Regions from separate parts of the Homo sapiens genome. Here region 2 is linked to region 1. The links are contacts of gene promoters, found by promoter capture Hi-C in blood cells and fetal thymus (Javierre and others, 2016). All regions are on one chromosome and are shown on one strand. Each heading gives the region's core, a stretch centred on a gene start or on the middle of the fragment in contact. The rest is flanking DNA. Distances are from core to core; before and after follow the strand shown. Region 1 holds the start of JTB (jumping translocation breakpoint). Region 2 overlaps ATP8B2 (ATPase phospholipid transporting 8B2).

What was found. The method cuts DNA at HindIII sites, captures the fragments that hold promoters and counts their contacts. A CHiCAGO score of 5 or more calls a contact.
Region 2: a contact is called between a fragment that was not itself captured here and the fragment with the promoter of JTB in region 1, in 1 of 17 cell types (total CD8 T cells). The highest score is 5.3, in total CD8 T cells.

What each region holds. Positions count from the first base shown.
Region 1 is chr1:153,975,181-153,980,046 of GRCh38, forward strand. JTB (jumping translocation breakpoint) reads right to left here and starts at 2,494. Exons shown (of 5, transcript NM_006694.4): 1 at 1,990-2,494; 2 at 1,796-1,833; 3 at 1,513-1,595; 4 at 646-725. The coding sequence starts at 2,072. JTB-DT (JTB divergent transcript) reads left to right here and starts at 2,563. Exons shown (of 1, transcript NR_186180.1): 1 at 2,563-3,980. RefSeq lists enhancers at 666-1,315, 1,965-2,613, 2,615-2,664 and silencers at 2,335-2,384, 2,673-2,967. The HindIII fragment of the contact is 8,938 bases long and covers 1-2,721 here.
Region 2 is chr1:154,335,485-154,340,131 of GRCh38, forward strand. ATP8B2 (ATPase phospholipid transporting 8B2) reads left to right here. Exons shown (of 28, transcript NM_001370597.1): 12 at 1,864-2,060. It also overlaps the pseudogene RNU7-57P. Among named protein-coding and RNA genes, the nearest start is that of ATP8B2, 12 kb to the left of the region's middle. The HindIII fragment of the contact is 731 bases long and covers 1,746-2,476 here.

The sequences.
Region 1 (4,866 bases), core at 1,244-3,743:
GCGTGACCTTGGCTCACTGCAACCTCCACCTCCCGGGTTTAAGCAGTTTTCTGCTTCAGCCTCCCAAGTAGCTGGGATTACAGGTGCCCGCCATCATGCCCAGCTAATTTTTGTATCTTTAAGAGAGATGAGGTTTCACCATCTTGGCCAGGCTGGTCTTGAACTCCTAACCTCGTGATCCACCCGCCTCGGCCTCCCAAAGTGCTGGGATTACAGGCGTGAGCCACCCCTCCCAGCCTCTTTTTTTTTTTTTTTTTTTTGACACACAGTCTCGCTCCATTGCCCAGGCTGGAGTGCAGTGGCATGATCTTGGCTCACTCTAACCTCTGCCTCCTGGGTTCAAGTGATTCTCCCTGCCTCAGCCTCCCAAGTAGCTGGGATTATGGGCACCCACCACACCAGCTAATTTTTGTATTTTTAGTAGAGATGGGGTTTCACCACGTTGGCCAGGCTGATCTCGAACTCCTGACCTCAGGTGATCTGTTAGCCTCAGCCTCCCTAAGTACTGGGATTATAGGTGTGAGCCCGGCCCCCTCTTCTTTCAGATATTCCATGCTACCCCCAGACCAGGGGAAAAGGTGGGACCATCCATCTAAAGTCATAGGAGCAAAGGAGGTGATCTCAGAGAAGAGAAACAGCACTCACCTTTTGAACTCATTTCTCTTAGATGAGCTGCATGTGATTTTCTCTACATATCCTGTGGGACCACACTCAGGGGTAGTTTTCTGCCAGGAGAAAAGGAGCAAAGTACATGTTAGGAAGGGGCAACAGGATAAACAAAAAGGCTGCCATTCAGAAGGTGCAGGTGCCCAACTGCTATGGTTTGGAGTGGTAGGCAACAGAGAGCTAATGAAAGAGTTCTGATGCGGATGGTGGAGGTGGTGGTTGCATGATTACGAATGTATGTTAGAACACTTCAGGGGCAACAGTCTAGGAGTGGCAAAGATACATTCCATTCCAGAGCCTACTATACTAAAAGTGAATAAAACATAGTTATTTGAGGCCGGGTGTGGCGGCTCACGCCTATAATCCCAGCACTTTGGGAGGCCGAGGCGGGCAGATCACGAGGTAAGGAGTTAGAGACTAGCCTGGCCAACACAGTGAAACCCGAGTCTACTAAAAATACAAAAATTAGCCAGGCATGGTGCAACGCGCCTTTAGTCACAGCTACTCAGGAGGCTGAGGCAGGAGAATCGCTTGAACCCGGGAGGCGGAGGTTGTGGTGAGCCGAGATCTCGCCACTGCACTCCAGCCTGGGCAACAGAGTGAGACTCCGTCTCAAAAACAAACAAAAAAACCATAGTTATCAGTTGAATACTGCCATTAGCTTGGAAAGAAAGGGGCACATTTTCAGGGGAAAGACAAGTACAGATTTGGACATACACTGAGACTGCAAGAAGAAAGAAAAAAAGATGATGCAAAGGCAGCTTAATAAGACTTGGATGTTAAGATGTTGCTTAAGTGTTTGCTTAGATGTTTAAAAAAAAAAAGGGTAGAGAAATAGATACTCACAGCCCGGAAATTAGAGCATGGAGAGCACTCTTCTGCTACCACAAACTCTTCCACCAGCCAGCATGGCAAATTTGAGGTGCTTGCTGAAAGGAAAGATAAATGCCAGCCCCAGGCCATTCAGAAAACATTTCTCCCAGGCTCTGCCCATCCAACTTCCCGGCACAGCGCTTGCCCTCATTCCATGTGGTGCCGGCCTTTTCCACCTGTGCTCTTGGTATATGGGGAAGATACTAAAACCAAAAACAAACGACGGGACGTGTCGGGTTCCCAGACAATCACCCACCTGACAGCTTCTCTTCCTGCACGGGAGCCTCTGCTTGGCTGTAGCGGAGTTGGGGGAAGGGACAAAAGTCAAAACCCAGAAAATAGGGCACCCCCTCCTGCGCTGTCCATGGATAAGATCTCCCCCAGCCCCGAGGCCGGGAACGATCCTGTCCTCCAGTGACCTCCTTTTCCCTCCCCTTACCTCCTCCTTACCAGAGCTTTAAGGTGAAAGCACAGAGCAACCAGCAGAGGTGGCGGCCCTGGGGGAGGCCAGGCCTCCCGGCACCCGCAAGCATGGAGCGCCAAGTGTCGCACCTGTCGGAACAGAGGGACCTACTCCACAGGCCTCGTGCCTCCGTCGGAGCGCAGAGGCGGCACTTACTCTGCAGCCCTCCCAGAGGTTCCAGGTCAGGGCAGGGAAGGCCGGAGTTGCCTATTGGAGCAGAGGATCTATCAGGACGTCCCCGTTGCCACAGCGAGAAAAATCGATATGTTTTTGCGGGCTAGGGAGGCGAGCGCCTTCTGCGGGGTCCGCAGGGCGCTGGAGGAAGGGCCGGCGGGGGCTCGCGGCCCTAGCGCCCGCTCACCTCCGCTCCCGCCCCCGACGCAGCCATCTAGCCCCGTGGAGGATCCTCGGGCGCGGGACCGAGCTCGGGGCCCGGTGTTCCCGGGGGCGTTCGGTCGTCGCCCGCTGGGGCTTATAGTCTTCCGCGTCGGTGGCGCCTCGCCTGCTGCTCACTGGGAATTAGCTCGGCGCCCCGTTGCATTGTGGTCTTGGTAGTCTTTGCGAGAACGGCAAATGGCGGTTGCAGAGGCTCGTCCGAATTCTCGGCTCGCTGCTCCCTGGCTGGCGCGTGTTTGTTCATTCTGGGCTAGGTGAGCAGGGACAATACGTCGCCCTCTCAGGACTTTGCTCTCTCCTTAAAACCCGAGGATTCACCGTCAAGCTTCTGGTTTCTCTGACATCCTTCCCCAGCCGCCCCTTCATCGCCACCGATGATCCAGTGGAGAAGCTGTGTTGGAGGTCAAGGGATGGAGGCGAAACTGCGCGTTCTCGTCCCTGCAGAAACCGGAATATCCGAGACACATGACGAACATGAAACTTTCTCCTTGTCTCTTGGCTCCCACTCCGCTACACAGATGAACGGTGTTACCTTCCCTCATGTTACTTTGCTAAGCCTACTCCTCAGAGCTGGTCCTTTGCATAACCTCTTCAAATGCTCTCAACTCTCCCTTGCTCCTACATAATGGAGTAATCATAAGTGCAATGAGAAAAGCATGAGATTTGAAGTTCCATAAGTATTGAGTCTAGGTTCTGGTGGTTATTAACTCCATGATCTTAGGAAAGTATCTGTCAGTGTTCTGTGTAAAACGGAAATGCTAATGTGTATTTACCAGGACTTTTTCTTGCGAGAGGCAGATGAAATGTATCTCCGTTTCATGAGTAAGTTCAGAGAATATAAGTGACTTGTCCAAGGTCAGCAAGCTAATGAGTGGGAAAGCTGAGGCTTGAGCCTAGACTGTCAACACCCAGGCCAAAGATTCATTGCCTGCTTTTCATCTTATGGAGTTAAACCTTGATACACACTCAGATCTGCAGTGACTTGACCAGCACTGTGGGTTCATGCTTTACTGTCTGATAACGAATTTTCATTTAATTTTATTTTTTTTCTTAGACAGGGTCTAGCTCTGTCACCTAAACCTGATGAGGGCTGAGCCTTCATTTCGCCGTTTTTTGTTTGTTTGTTTTTGTTTTTGAACGAGATGGACTCTGGCTATGTTGCCAGACTGGAGTGCAGTGGCAAGTCACAGGAGCCATCATAGCGCATTACAGCCTGGAACTTCTCGTCTTCAGGGATCCTCCCAAGTAGCTGGGATTTCAGGCATGTGCCACCATACCTGGCTCTAATTTTGAATTTGTTTCTTTAAATTATTATTTGTGTTTGCTGAAATTGTGTGTGTATTATTTTTGTGTATGTGTGTGAGTAGTTATATGTTACATAAAGTAGGTTGTGGGGTTTTTTCCAGTAATGTTTAGCTATAATTGAAGTTTGGGCCGAAATCTGCTAGTATTTGTTACTCCTCACCAAATCCTACCTTATCTCACAACAAACTGTAAGATCTTGTGATATTTCACTTCCAATAACCTTACCAGGCATCAGAGTGGGGTCTCTACTCTGAAATTAAATATCTGCCATAAGGTATGTTGAAGACGTTAGTCTCTTTCCCAGGAGGCACAAAGTGCAAGTCTTTTCCTCATCGCTTGAGCAAATTAAACCTACCGGACAGTTTACTACAGAACTCAAACACAGCTGGGCGCAGTGGCTCACGCCTGTAATCCCAGCAATTTGGGAGGCCGAGGTGGGCGGATCACCTGAGGTCGGGAGTTCAAGACCAGCCTGACCAACATGGAGAAACCCCGTCTCCACTAAAAATACAGAATTAGCTGGGCATGGTGCCATATGCCTGTAATCCCAGGTACTCGTGAGGCTGAGGCAGGAGAATCACTTGAACCCGGGAGGTAGAGGTTGCGGTGAGCCGAGATCACACCATTGTACTCCAGCCTGGGCAACAAGAGCAAGAATTCATCTCAAAAGAAAAAAAAAAGAACTTAAGCATAAGCCACAAATAAGGTTTATCATTACCTCATCAATGCTTGGATACTTACATTTATCAAGTTATTACATTTTGCTGTGTAAAAAATATTATGTATGGTGAAAGGGGGATATATATATATTATGTATTAAAATATGTATTATATATTATATATTAAACATAATATAATTATATATAATTATATATTAAACATAATATATTATATATTAAATATATAATTATAATATATATTTAATATATATGTATAATATATAATTATATATTATATATAATATGTTATATGTTTATAAACATATACATGTTATATATATTATATATTTCCTATATATTTAATATATAATATATATAATTATACATTGTAATATATAATATAATATAATATATATATACTTAAGGATGCTGTGCATCAAGCCTGAATTTTTTTTTTTTTTTTGAGATGGAGTTTCGCTCTGTCTCCAGGCTGGAGTGTAATGG
Region 2 (4,647 bases), core at 861-3,360, 360 kb after region 1:
AGTTCGAAAACAGCCTGGACACCATAGTGAGACCCTGTCTTTACAAAAAACTGAAAAATTAGCCAGGTTTGGTGGCATGCACCTGTGGTCCCAGTTACTCTGGAGGCTGAGGCGGGGGGATTGCTTGGCCTGGGAGATTGAGGCTGCGTTGAGCTAGGATCATGCCACTGCACTCCAGCCTGGGCAACAAAGCAAGACCCTGTTTCAAAAAAGAAATCTACGTTTATGAAGATAAGTTTGTTTCCCAAGTTTAAAAAAAAAAAAGGCAATCTTAGCCAGGTGCAGTGGCTCACGCCTGTAATCCCAGCACTTTGGGAGACCGAGGTGGGTGGATCACGAGGTCAAGAGATCAAGACCATCCTGACCAACATGGTGAAACCCCATCTCTACTAAAAATACAAAAAAATAGCTGGGCGTGGTGGCGGGCACCTGTAGTCCCAGCTACTTGGGAGGTTGAGGCAGGAAAATGGCGTGAACCCGGGAGGTGGAGCTTGCAGCAGTGAGCCGAGGTCGCGCCACTGCACTCCAGCCTGGGCGACAGAGCAAGGCTCCATCTCAAAAAAAAAAAAAAAAGGCCATCTATGTGAGATAGTGAACATTACCGTGGCTTGGCATTTTTGTTGGCTTGTACCTAGCCCAGGTGAATAGATTATTTACAGTAAGTTTTCTGGTATGTTAAAAGTAGCTCATCCCCACTCTTACCAACTTTGAGGACTCTGGAAGGTTTCAAGGTGCCAGATTGAGAGCTAATCAACTATTTCAGTTTCTTCATCATATAGATGAAATAATGGTCAGACAGAAGGCCACATGATAATTGGTGACAGACTAGAACCTGTCACCAGTTCTGAGCTTTTTCCACTAGAGCAGTGGTGTCCAATATTTTGGCATCCCTGGGCCACATTGGAAGAAGAATTGTCTTGGGCCACACATAAAATACACTAACATTAACAATAGCTGATAAGCTTAGAAAAAAAAAATTGCAAAAAAAAATCTCATAAATTTTTTTTTTTTTTTTTTGAGACGGAGTCTCACTCTGTCACTAGGCTGGAGTGTAGTGCAATGGCATTATCTCGGCTCACTGCAACCTCTGCCTCTCGGGTTCACGTGATTCTCCTGCCTCAGCCTCCCTAGTAGCTGGGATTACAGGTGCCCGCCACCACACCCGGCTAATTTTTTTGTATTTTTAGTAGAGATGAGAGATGGGGTTTCACCATGTTGGCCAGACTGGTCTCGAACTCCTGACCTCATGATCTGCCCGCCTTGGCCTCCCAAAGTGCTGGGATTATAGGTGTGAGTCACTGCACCTGGCCTTTTTTTTTTTTTTTTTTGAGACAGGTTCTTGCTCTGTTGCCCAGGCTGGGATGCAGTGGCATGATCTTGGCTCACTGCAATGTCTGCCTCCCGGGTTCAAGCAATTCTCATGCCTTGGACTCCTGAGTAGCTGAGACTACAGGCAAGTGCCACCAGGACTGGCTAATTTTTTTAATGTTTTTAGTAGAGACGGGGTTTCACCGTGTTGGCCAGGCTGGTCTCAAACTCCTGACCTCAGGTGATCCATCCGCCTCAACCTCCCAAAATGCTGGGATTACAGGCTTGAGCCACTGCGCCCAGCCCATAATAGTTTTTTTTTTTTTTATAATTATTTTTCATTTAACATTCAGCTGTTACCAAAATCTCATAGTGTTTTAAGAAAGTTTATGAATCTGTGTTGGGCCACATGTGGCCCAGAGACCATGGGTTGGACAAGCTTGCACTAGAGCATCTGAGCTTTTGAGGGCTCAAGGGATGAATACATCACAGATGCACTTGGTTTTGAGGGCTTCCTACATGTCAGCCTCGCCTGTGCTTCTCATTCCTCCCCAGATTTTTGGATTCCTGGTTTGCATGGGGGTGATCCTGGCCATTGGCAATGCCATCTGGGAGCACGAGGTGGGGATGCGTTTCCAGGTCTACCTGCCGTGGGATGAGGCAGTGGACAGTGCCTTCTTCTCTGGCTTCCTCTCCTTCTGGTCCTACATCATCATCCTCAACACCGTTGTGCCCATTTCACTCTATGTCAGGTATGTGCCTTCTCTGACCTGGGGTCTCTCCAGGGAGTCAGGCGGTCCCATAGAACTTTTCTTTTCTATGAAGATGAAGTCCTTGAGAAGTAACGAGAAGTCCTCTTCTTCCTGTACTGTAAACATTTGATGTTATCTGTTTATCTTTGTGGGCAGAGCAAACTTTTTACCACAGTTTCCTGGTACTTGGGACTGTATTAGAGAAAAAAAAATATTGATTTATTCAGCACCTATTTATTACATGCCTACTGTGTACAAAGAAGTGTGCTAGGTGCCATCACAAATAAAAGATGAATTAGGAATGGATCTCCTTCCTTCTAGGAGCTTACGTCTAGTAAAGGAAGGAAAATCTAAACACATTATAAAACAAAATAGGAACCAGTGCTGTAGAATTCGACCTAGAGTCTTCTATGTGAAGCTTGGGGATACAGAGATGTATAAGGTGGCCTCTGCCTTTAGCAGCAGCAGATGGATAGGTCGAGGAGGGGAGATCTGGACAGTGTCAGACTGAGATACCATGTGGGAGGCACAGGGTGCCCGGGGACTGGGAGAGTGTCGCTCCCTAAGCAGGTAGGCAGAGAGGGAGAGATGGCATTTGCTCTGGGCTTTGAGTGGTGACTGGGCTGGATGAAGGTGGAGCCACAATGGAGAGGAGGCTGAGAGGGCTGGAAGCAAAGGTGTGGAGATGGGAGCCTGGGAATGGCCTATGGAAATAGTTGGCCAGGGTCTTGGGCCAAGAGCAAGAGCTGGAAACATAGCTTGCTCCTGATTGTGGAGGCTTTTGAATATTTGCCTGTGGACTTTGTATTTACTAACCATTAAAAGTTATTGAAAAGACTGGGCACGGTGGCTCACACCTGTAATCCCAGCACTTTGGGAAGCCAAGGTGGGCGGATAACGAGGTCAGGAATTCGAGACCAGCCTGGCCAACATGTTGAAACCCCGTCTCTACTAAAAATACAAAAATTAGCCAGGTGTGGTGGTGGTTGCCTGTAATCCCAGCTACTTGGGAGGCTAAGGTAGGAGAATCGCTTGAAACCGGAAGGTGGAGGTAGCAGTGAGCCAAGATCACGCCACTGCACTCTAGCCTGGGCAACGAGCGAAACTGTGTCTCAAAAAACAACGAAACAAACAAACAAACAAAAAAGTTTTTGAAGAAAGTCAAAAGAATGTATTCTGTATTCTAAAAATGCATTCTAAGTGTTACAGCTCTTTTAGAATTTGTCTAGCAGGTTTTCCAGTTTTCACTGGAACCCCTCCCCCACAAAAAGAAAAAAATGCATTCTAAAAAAAAACTAAAGAATGCTTTAGGAAGTATTGACTGGCAGTAGTGTACAGCATGAATAGGATCAAGGCAACATGTAGGATGTTTGAGGTAAAGAGAATGTTAGCAGGGACAGGCCAGTGAGAATGAAGGGGAGGATCGGAGGAAGACGAGGCAGGAGGAATGGCCAGGGGAAAGGAACTTTCTTGCTTAGTGCCTTGCACTTGAGATAAGGGAACCTGTGACATTTTTAAGGAAATGTTTTATGGAGGTGCTGAAAACTTGTCCTGTCTCCCATCTTTTGTTCATACAGATTCCCCAAATAGCCCTCAACTCTCTCCCAGCCCCCAATCTTACTGCTGGTGATAATAAATAGAAGATACAGCATTTCTGTGCTGAGAGAATATAGTTTAGGCTTTTCCAGGGTGTGAAGAGGAGAGTTGGGAGGTTCTGGGTTTAGTCCTGCCTCCTCACTGGCCATGTGACCTCAGGAAAATCCACGGTCACTCAGGGCCTCACTTGATCTTAGTTTTCCCACGTGAAACAGGAACAGGAGTACTTGTCTCACCTTTTAATAGGATGTCTTGATATAAGATATTGGCTTAGAAGATACATTTTAAACTTAAGTGACTGTACAGTTACTGGGTGGTAGCCTGCTCATTGTGACTGTTGCCACTCCCTTCTGCATTACTATTTAAATGCCTTTGTGCTTACAACCTAATTTTGTTTTCCCACCTATGGGCTTTGCTATCTGTGTTTTGTATCTCAGTTCACTTGAAGCCCTTGGGAGCAGCTAAAGCAGTTTTCTTTCTGAGTCTCATCAGGTCACAGTGTGTATGTTTCGGGAGGCTAAGAGGGGGTTGAAGAGCTGTGTGAGGAAAAGGCCCTTTGGAATGTGAAGACATTCCCATTTGCCTGGTAATGGGATCCTGATAGGTGCCTTAGTCAGGTGGGAAGCAGGGCTCTCGATAGGGCCCCATTGCTCGGCTGCACTGGACCTAAACATGGCCCTTTCTGGAAATGCTAACAGTGCATATGATTAGCAAAGAAGAGGATACGAACAGACCTGGAGATGTTAAAGGCACTATAGGGGCCAGGCATGGTGGCTGTCGCCTGTAATCCCAGCACTTTGGGCGGTGGAGGCGGGAGGATCTCTTGAGTTCAGGAATTCAAGACCAGTGTGGGCAACACAGCGAGATCCCATCTCTACAAAAAATGAAAATTAGCCAGGTGTGGTGGTGTGCACCTGTAGTCCCAGCTACTAGGGAGGCTGAGGTGGGAGGATTGCTTGAGCCCAGGAGTTTGAGGCTACAGTGAGCTATG